Regions from separate parts of the Homo sapiens genome. Here region 1 is linked to region 2. Evidence: promoter capture Hi-C in human tissues and cell types (Jung and others, 2019). All regions are on one chromosome and are shown on one strand. Each heading gives the region's core, a stretch centred on a gene start or on the middle of the fragment in contact. The rest is flanking DNA. Distances are from core to core; before and after follow the strand shown. Region 1 holds the start of TLCD2 (TLC domain containing 2). Region 2 overlaps SLC43A2 (solute carrier family 43 member 2).

The links. Contacts are between HindIII fragments. The study calls those that stand out against the background at their distance.
Region 1: the fragment with the promoter of TLCD2 here is called in contact with a fragment that was not itself captured in region 2 in 2 of the 25 tissues and cell types used here (dorsolateral prefrontal cortex and hippocampus).

Annotation. Positions count from the first base shown.
Region 1 is chr17:1,707,869-1,711,626 of GRCh38, reverse strand. TLCD2 (TLC domain containing 2) reads left to right here and starts at 1,250. Exons shown (of 4, transcript NM_001164407.2): 1 at 1,250-1,560; 2 at 1,741-1,823; 3 at 2,046-2,128; 4 at 3,405-3,758. The coding sequence starts at 1,385. MIR22HG (MIR22 host gene) reads left to right here. Exons shown (of 3, transcript NR_028505.2): 3 at 1-123. The HindIII fragment of the contact is 13,317 bases long and covers 1-3,758 here.
Region 2 is chr17:1,622,023-1,625,875 of GRCh38, reverse strand. The region is part of intron 2 of SLC43A2 (solute carrier family 43 member 2); the gene reads left to right. Among named protein-coding and RNA genes, the nearest start is that of SLC43A2, 4.9 kb to the left of the region's middle. The HindIII fragment of the contact is 4,391 bases long and covers 1-3,757 here.

The DNA of each region.
Region 1 (3,758 bases), core at 1-2,500, 86 kb before region 2:
AAAAATGTTGAGTGGTTATCTTTGTATGGTGGAACAAAGTCACTGTAATTTTCATCTTTGGTTTTTCTGTAATTTCCAAATTTTCCACATTTTGTATTTCATATAATATAATTTAAGAGATCAGTGTTATTATTTAAACCTTTGGAGAGGTGGGGGTAGAAGAATGAAGGGAAGACCTCAGCTTTTTGGTGAGAAGGTTTGGTTGGGGCACCTCTTGGTTTATGAACTTAATTCTTTGAAGTAGCTGGAATCCTCCCTCTCAGCCTGCAGGAAACAGCTCTGACTTGCTGACTGTCTGCCAGCTGAAGAGGTGGAGTGGAGTAAGGTGGAAGGAAAGCAGTGCAACCTGGGGCTCTTCAGGTGGTGAGGGGCTGGGGGAGGCTCTTCCTCTTAAGGCTGGAGGGTTCTGGAATCCTAACCGCCCTGCTACTAAGAGCAGGACAGGTCTGTTTTTCTCTTCTGACTCTGTCCCAGCCTTGAAGGGACCCTGTGTTACCTTTCCTTGCCCTCGGATTGAAGATATTCTACCCACCCAACGGGTACCAAGCCCTTGGGGAAGGAAGTGCTTTTCAAGACTGGGGGCCAGCGATTCCCTTTTGCGTCCTCTTCCTAATGAGGCTCCTCCGTAGGGCCGAAAACAATGCTGGGGGTCGGGGCGGGGCCCAGTGGGTCGCTTCTCCAACATGGGGTCTCCTGGGGGTTGTGGGGGAGGGGGAGCAGAACTGCTGGAATTACAGGTTTGCCGGGATATGGTAAAGGCGTGGAAACCTCAGGAGGCCGAAGGGGTGGCTCCAAGAAAGTGGGGCACCCCGTCCCCACCACGGACGCGGGGAGGGAAGTGGGGGCGGCGGCCAGGCTCGGGCAGGTACGAGTGGGCTGCGCTAGCCTCTGCCTTGCAGGGTGTGGCGGTGGGTGGTGATGACGCTCAGCAGGTGAAAGTCGCGGGAGCCGGGAAGAGGTCAAGGTTCGTGGGTGGGGCCCGGGAGTGTCAGTTGAGGTTAGACTGGAGACCCAGGTCTGCAACTCCAGCGCTTCAGGACGCTTGGAGCTGGGGAGGACCCCTATTGGCGAACATCCCGGAGGCCCCCCGAGCTCCAGGGCATGGTCTACTGCCCGGAGCCCCCGAACCGCTCCCCCGGCTGGAGCAAGACGCAATCGGTGGCCAAGGCTCCGGGGGCGGCGGCCCCGCGGCTGCTCCAATCACCGCCCAGGCGAGGGACTGGGCGTGGACGAACGGGGAAAAGTTCCTGCTGATCCCAAAGGCGCGGCGGGGAGGGGAGCCGGGGCCCCAGCCCTGCCGGGAAACGGGTTCCCAGTCCCGGCCGAGAGCGCGGGCGCCGAGGGGACCGACCCGGACTCCCCGCAACCCCCCAACCGCCAGGCCATGGCGCCCACGGGGCTCCTGGTGGCCGGCGCCTCCTTCCTCGCGTTCCGGGGGCTGCACTGGGGGTTGCGGCGGCTGCCCACGCCGGAATCGGCCGCTCGGGACCGCTGGCAGTGGTGGAACCTCTGCGTCTCCCTGGCGCACAGCCTGCTCTCGGGGACCGGGGCGCTGCTCGGGTGCGGGCTTGGGGGCTCGAGGCGCACGGGGCGAGGGCGAGGGGTGGGAGGCTGAGGCCGGGAGACCCGCCGGGCGTCTCCAGAGCTGAGACTGGGGTGGGGGTGCGCACAGGGAGACTGCGGCCGGGGCCTCGAGAGGCTGACCATGCCCCCCCCCATGTCCCCACCCCATGCCCCCAGCCTGTCACTGTACCCTCAGATGGCCGCCGACCCCATCCATGGCCACCCGCGCTGGGCTCTGGTGCTGGTGGCTGTGTCTGTGGGTGAGTCTGCAGGGAAGGCTGGGCCGGTGGTGGGGATGGGGCGGGGGGCAGGTTCTGCTGTCCTTCCAGGTCCATTCCCCGCCCCCATGGGGGTTAAACGTTCCTGAAGGCTTTACCAAGGGAAAACTAAGAACTGGGAGAGGGGCGGGGCGGGGGGGCTGGAAATCCTCTCTAAGCTGCCCGGGCTCTGGAGCAGCCTAACCCCTACCCCCATGCCCACAGGTTACTTCCTGGCAGACGGAGCTGACCTGCTGTGGAACCAGACCTTGGGCAAGACCTGGGATCTTCTCTGTCATCATTTGGTGGTGAGACTCTGAGGGCAGAAGCCAGACAGGAAGGGAGGAGGGGAGCCCTGTCCAGCCCGAGGTTCCCAGTCTCTCCTCATTCTTTTTTTTTTTTTTTTTTTTTTTTTTTGAGACGGAGTCTCACTCTGTCACCCAGGCTGGGGTCCAGTGGTTCGGCCTCTGTTCACTGCAACCTTCGCCTCCTGGGTTCAAGCAATTCTCCTGCCTCAGCCTCCCACGTAGCTGGGATTACAGGCACCCGCCACCACGCCCAAGTAATTTTTTGTATTTTTAGTAAAGACGGGGTTTCTCCATGTTGGCCAGGCTGGTCTCGAACTTCTGACCTCAGGTGATCCGCCCACTTCAGCCTTCCAAAGTGCTGGGATTACAAGCATGAGCCACCGCCCCCGGCCCTCTCTTCATTTTGCTGTCCTATAATTTCCCACAGTCTCTGCCCCCAGCTGGTGCTTGGCTCCCAGTCTTAGGCTGAGTTAGGGGGAGGAGGTGGCTGCTGGCCACAGCTGGGGAGTCCAGATACCCACCAGGCCAGGGCACCTACCATGCCAGGGCACTCACCATACAAGGGCACCCACCATGCCAGGGCACCCACCATGTGAGCCTAAGGAGTTTGGGTGCCCCCACAGGTGTCCAGCTGATCACAGAAATGTGGAATATGGAGCTTTTCTGAGAAGGGGGTGTCCTGGTATAGGGTGTGGGTATGGGGCATGAAAGCCCTAGGCCAGGCACGGTGGCTTATGCCTATAATCCCAGCACACTGGGAGGCCGAGGCGGGTGGATCACGAGGTCAGGAGATCGAGACCATCCTGACTAACAGTGAAACCCCGTCTCTACTAAAAATACAAAAATTACCTGGGTGTGGTGGCGCGCACCGGTAGTCCCAGCTACTCTGGAAGCTGAGGCAGGAGAATTGCTTGAACCCAGGAGGCAGAGGTTGCAGTGAGCCAAGATCACACCACTGCACTCCAGCCTGGTGGCAGAGTGAGAGTCTGTCTCGAAAAAAAAAAAAAAAAAAAAAAAAAGCAAGCAAGCCCAGGAATGGGAGGTTAAGGGGGTATTAGGGGGTGAGACAGCCCCTCCCTGGGCCAAGCCTGGTTCCATCTATGGAAGGGTTGTTTCAAGGCTGCTCAGGGCCCCAGGATAAAGGTAAAAGCATAAAGGTCAGGTGTTTGGGGAGCCCCACAGACTGCGTGGAAGCCTCTTTCTTCAGGCCTGGGTTATTGGGACATGATGGCTGGCAGGTCATGGGGTTCCTCTGACCTGTGACCCTGGCTCCCAGGTGGTGAGCTGCCTCAGCACCGCTGTTCTGTCTGGCCACTACGTGGGCTTCTCCATGGTGTCTCTGCTCCTGGAACTGAACTCTGCCTGCTTGCACCTGCGGAAGCTGCTGTTGCTTTCTCGCCAGGCCCCATCCCTGGCCTTCAGCGTGACCAGCTGGGCCTCCTTGGCCACCTTGGCCCTCTTCCGCCTGGTCCCGCTGGGGTGGATGAGTCTGTGGCTGTTCCGGCAGCACCACCAGGTTCCTCTTGCTCTGGTCACCCTGGGTGGAATTGGGCTGGTCACTGTGGGCATCATGAGCATCATATTGGGGATCCGTATTCTGGTCAATGATGTCCTACAGTCTCGACCCCAT
Region 2 (3,853 bases), core at 313-2,812:
GTGCTGAGTTGGTGTTTTAAGCCCTGGGCAGACTTGACAGGTAACTCCACTAAACCAAAGTGAAGGTGAAGGGTCAGGATTGTGGGTTGAACATCAACTTCTTATCCCGAACTTTTGCTCCTGCCTCCAATTTTGGTTTTTCTTATTATCTGGCAAACATGCTGAGCCCACGTTCTGGGCGGGAAGGCTGCTGATTCCACACAGCTTATCTCTCTGGTCACACTGCTCCTTGATTCTTGGAGTCTGCATCACCAGTTTTCTTTCAGGCCAGAAATCCCCGCATTTGGCTCGTCTGGGAGTGCCTGGCGAAGTTAGGGTGAAGGTTTCTGCTTCAGTCTAACATTTTCAAACTTGGTGCATGGCTGAATTGCAGAGAAGCAGATAGGCCATTTTTGAATTTATTGAATTAGACTTGTGAAAGCCTGAGCAGTGTCCGGCTGATTGAGATGCAAATTTGTCAGCTTCGTGTCACTCTAGGACGATGCTTTAGTTTGTTCTCTAAAGAAAATTTGCCTGAACCTGTTGAAAGGTTCTTAGAACTCTTTCTTACGACTCCAGCCAGAATCTCGCCACAGACACCGTGTTGGGTTCCAGCCTGGTGAGGTGGCAGAAGGAAGGAAACAGCTCATTTCTCGGCTGCCCCGCAGTTTGTTCTTCCTTGCCTGCTGGGAGACGTGGCAGGCTGGGTTTGGGGACCTGGGTGCGGGAAGTTGGCAATGGGTTTTGCACAACGTCCTCCAGGTGTTGGCTGCTGGATGCCTCCCTCGTCCCCCTGGTGAGGGCAGGAGACCAGTTGGGTTCTCAGCCCGAGAAGCACGGGGCTTCCTGGAGCTGTGTCCTCTTGGCCTCTGGGATGGCAACGTGACGGCCCACTCCTGAGCTCTTTCTTCGTTTTCTCTGTTGTCCAGTGGCCCCCGCTTCAACAGGGTCAGGGTCAGCCTGGGGGGCTGCGGCTACCTGTGGATGGTTTTTTTTTATTTGAGACAGGGTCTCGCTCTGTTGCCCAGTCTGGAATGTAGTGTTGCAATCACAGCTCACTGCGGCCTTGACTCCTGGGCTCAAGCAATCCTCCCGCCTCAGCCTCCCGAGTAGCAGTAGCTGGGACTACAAGTGTGCGCCACCATACTCAGCTAATTTTTGTATTTTTTGTAGAGACAGGGTCTCGCCATGTTGCCTAGGCTGGTCTCAAACTCCTGGGCTCAAGCGATCCTCCTGCCTCAGCCTTCCAAAGTGCTGGGCCTGCAAGCATGAGCCATCAAACCCAGTTAGTTTTTTGTTTTTGTTTTTGGGATTACAGGTGCCCACCACCACGCCCGGCTAATTTTTGTATTTTTTAGTAGAGATGTGGTTTTACCATGTTGGCCTGGCTGGTCTCGAACTCCTGACCTCAGGTGATCCACCCGCCTTGGCCTCCCAAAGCACTGGGATTACAGGTGTGAGCCACCACGCCCGGTCAAATTTTTTGTAGAGATGAGGGTTTCATCACGTTGCTCAGGCTGGTCTCAAAACTCCTGGGCTCAAGTGATCCACCAGCCTCAGCCTCCCAAAGTGCTGGGACTACAGGTGTAAGCCACCATACCCAGTTAATTTTTAAATGTTTTGTAGAGATAGGGGTTTCACCATGTTGCCCAGGCTGGTCTTGAACTCCTGGGCTCAGTCGATCCACCCACCTCGGGCTCCCACATTGCTGGGATTATAGGCGTGAGCCACCGCTCCAGGCCTACATGTGGATCGTTAATCCCCTCTTTCTTGTAACCTAAACATTCAGTAAACATTGACGAAGGTGCCGTGCTGGGTGCAGAGGAAACAAGTCATCACACGCATACCTGTGTAACCCGTATAATTCCAGGGGGTGGTCGGGCCCCCAAGAAAGCAGGGCGCCAGGAGCTAGAACAGCAGCGGAGATGTGGCTCCTGCTGGGTGGGAGGGCCTCTCTGCGGTTCAGGTGGAAGCCTGGAGGTTGAGGAGGGGTGATTCAGGAGAGGAGGGTACACCCTGGAGGAGAGGAGGGTACACCCTGGAGGAGAGGAGGGTACAGCCTGGAGGAGAGGAGGGTACACCCTGGAGGAGAGGAGGGTACAGCCTGGAGGAGAGGAGGGTACAGCCTGGAGGAGAGGAGGGTACAGCCTGGAGGAGAGGAGGGTACAGCCTGGAGGAGAGGAGGGTACAGCCTGGAGGAGAGGAGGATACGCCCTGGAGGAGAGGAGGGTACGCCCTGGAGGAGAGGAGGGTACAGCCTGGAGGAGAGGAGGGTACACCCTGGAGGAGAGGAGAGAAGTGGGAAGGGGCGGGGGCTGCAGGGACTGGGAGGCCATTCGGGGAAACTGAATTTTATTCCCAAGACAGGAGGAAGCCAGGGAGATAGAGGAGGGCGACCATCCAATTCCCCTGTTAGAGGCTTGTGTGAATTGCTGAGGGCTTGCCACATGCTGGTATGTTTGGGTGGCATAGAAACCAGAAGTCATCACGGCCTCTGCCTGAGGAAGTCACCCACAGTCTGACCATGGGCATGAAGGCCGACCCCAGTTGTATGCTCTTGACCTCTGCAGTTTCTCCACCTGTGGTGGTGGGAGAGAGCCTCTCACCCTGGCACAGAGGTCCCTGCGAGCTCGCCCTGGCACAGAGATCGCTGCAAGGGCAGAGGGGCTGCCGCCCACCTTGGGGAAGCAGGCCCAGGCTTGATCCCCACGGGCTGAGTGAAGCTGCAGATGTGGACAGGAGATTTCTCTGCTGCCTCGAGGACCTCTTTTCTTGGGGGATGGGGAGGAGGGAACGGAGTTTCACTCTTGTCGCCCAGGCTGGAGTGCAGTGGCGCAGTCTCGGCTCACTGTAACCTCTGCCTCTCGGGTTAAAGCGATTTTCCTGCCTCAGCCTCCCAAGTAGCTGGGATTACAGGCGCCTGCCACCATACCCGGCTAATTTTTTGTATTTGTATTTGTATTTTATTTTATTTTATTTTTTTGAGATGGAGTTTCACTCTGTCGCCCAGGCTGGAGTACAATGGCATGATCTCAGCTCACCGCAAACTCCATCTCCCGGGTTAAAGTGATTCTCCTGCCTCAGCCTCCCAAATAGCTGGGATTACAGGTGCCCACCACCACACCCGGCTAATTTTTGTATTTTTAGTAGAGACAGGGTTTCACCATGTTGGCCAGGCTGGTCTCAAACTCCTGACCTCAGGTGATCTACCAGCCTTGGCCTCCCAAAGTGCTGGGATTACAGGCGTGAGCCACTGCGCCCAGCTCAAGGGCCTCTCTTTTTAGAGTCTCTCCTCACACCCACAGGCAAGTGTGGATAGTTTTTTTTTTTTTGAGACAGAGTCTTGCTCTGTCGCCCAGGCTGGAGTGCAGTGGCGCGATCTCGGCTCACCGCAACCTCCGCCTCCCGGGTTCACGCCATTCTCCTGCCTCAGCCTCCCCAGTAGCTGGGACTGCAGGCGCCCGCCACCACGCCTGGCTAAATTTTTTTGTATTTTTAGTAGAGACGGGGTTTCACCGTGTTAGCCACGATGGTCTTGATCTCCTGACCTCGTGATCCACCCGCCTCGGCCTCCCACAATGCTGGGATTACAGGCGTGAGCCACCGCGCCCAGCCGGATAGCTTTCTTAAATCCAGCCTTTCACTTTTATTGCTATAAATATGACTTTTAAACTTTTCCCCCAGTTTATTTGGAATTTTAAAAATTCCATAGCAATGGGTAAGAAGGTTTAAAGGCTGGGGCCGGCAGCCTCAGGATGCGTCTCAGAGAAGAGCTGGTGGCCTTGGCTCTTCCCACCGCCCCAGCCTCCCTCCTTCTTGGTTCGTGACCTCATTTCCCTCACAGACATCCACTGGCCACCCCTGGCTTCTGGTG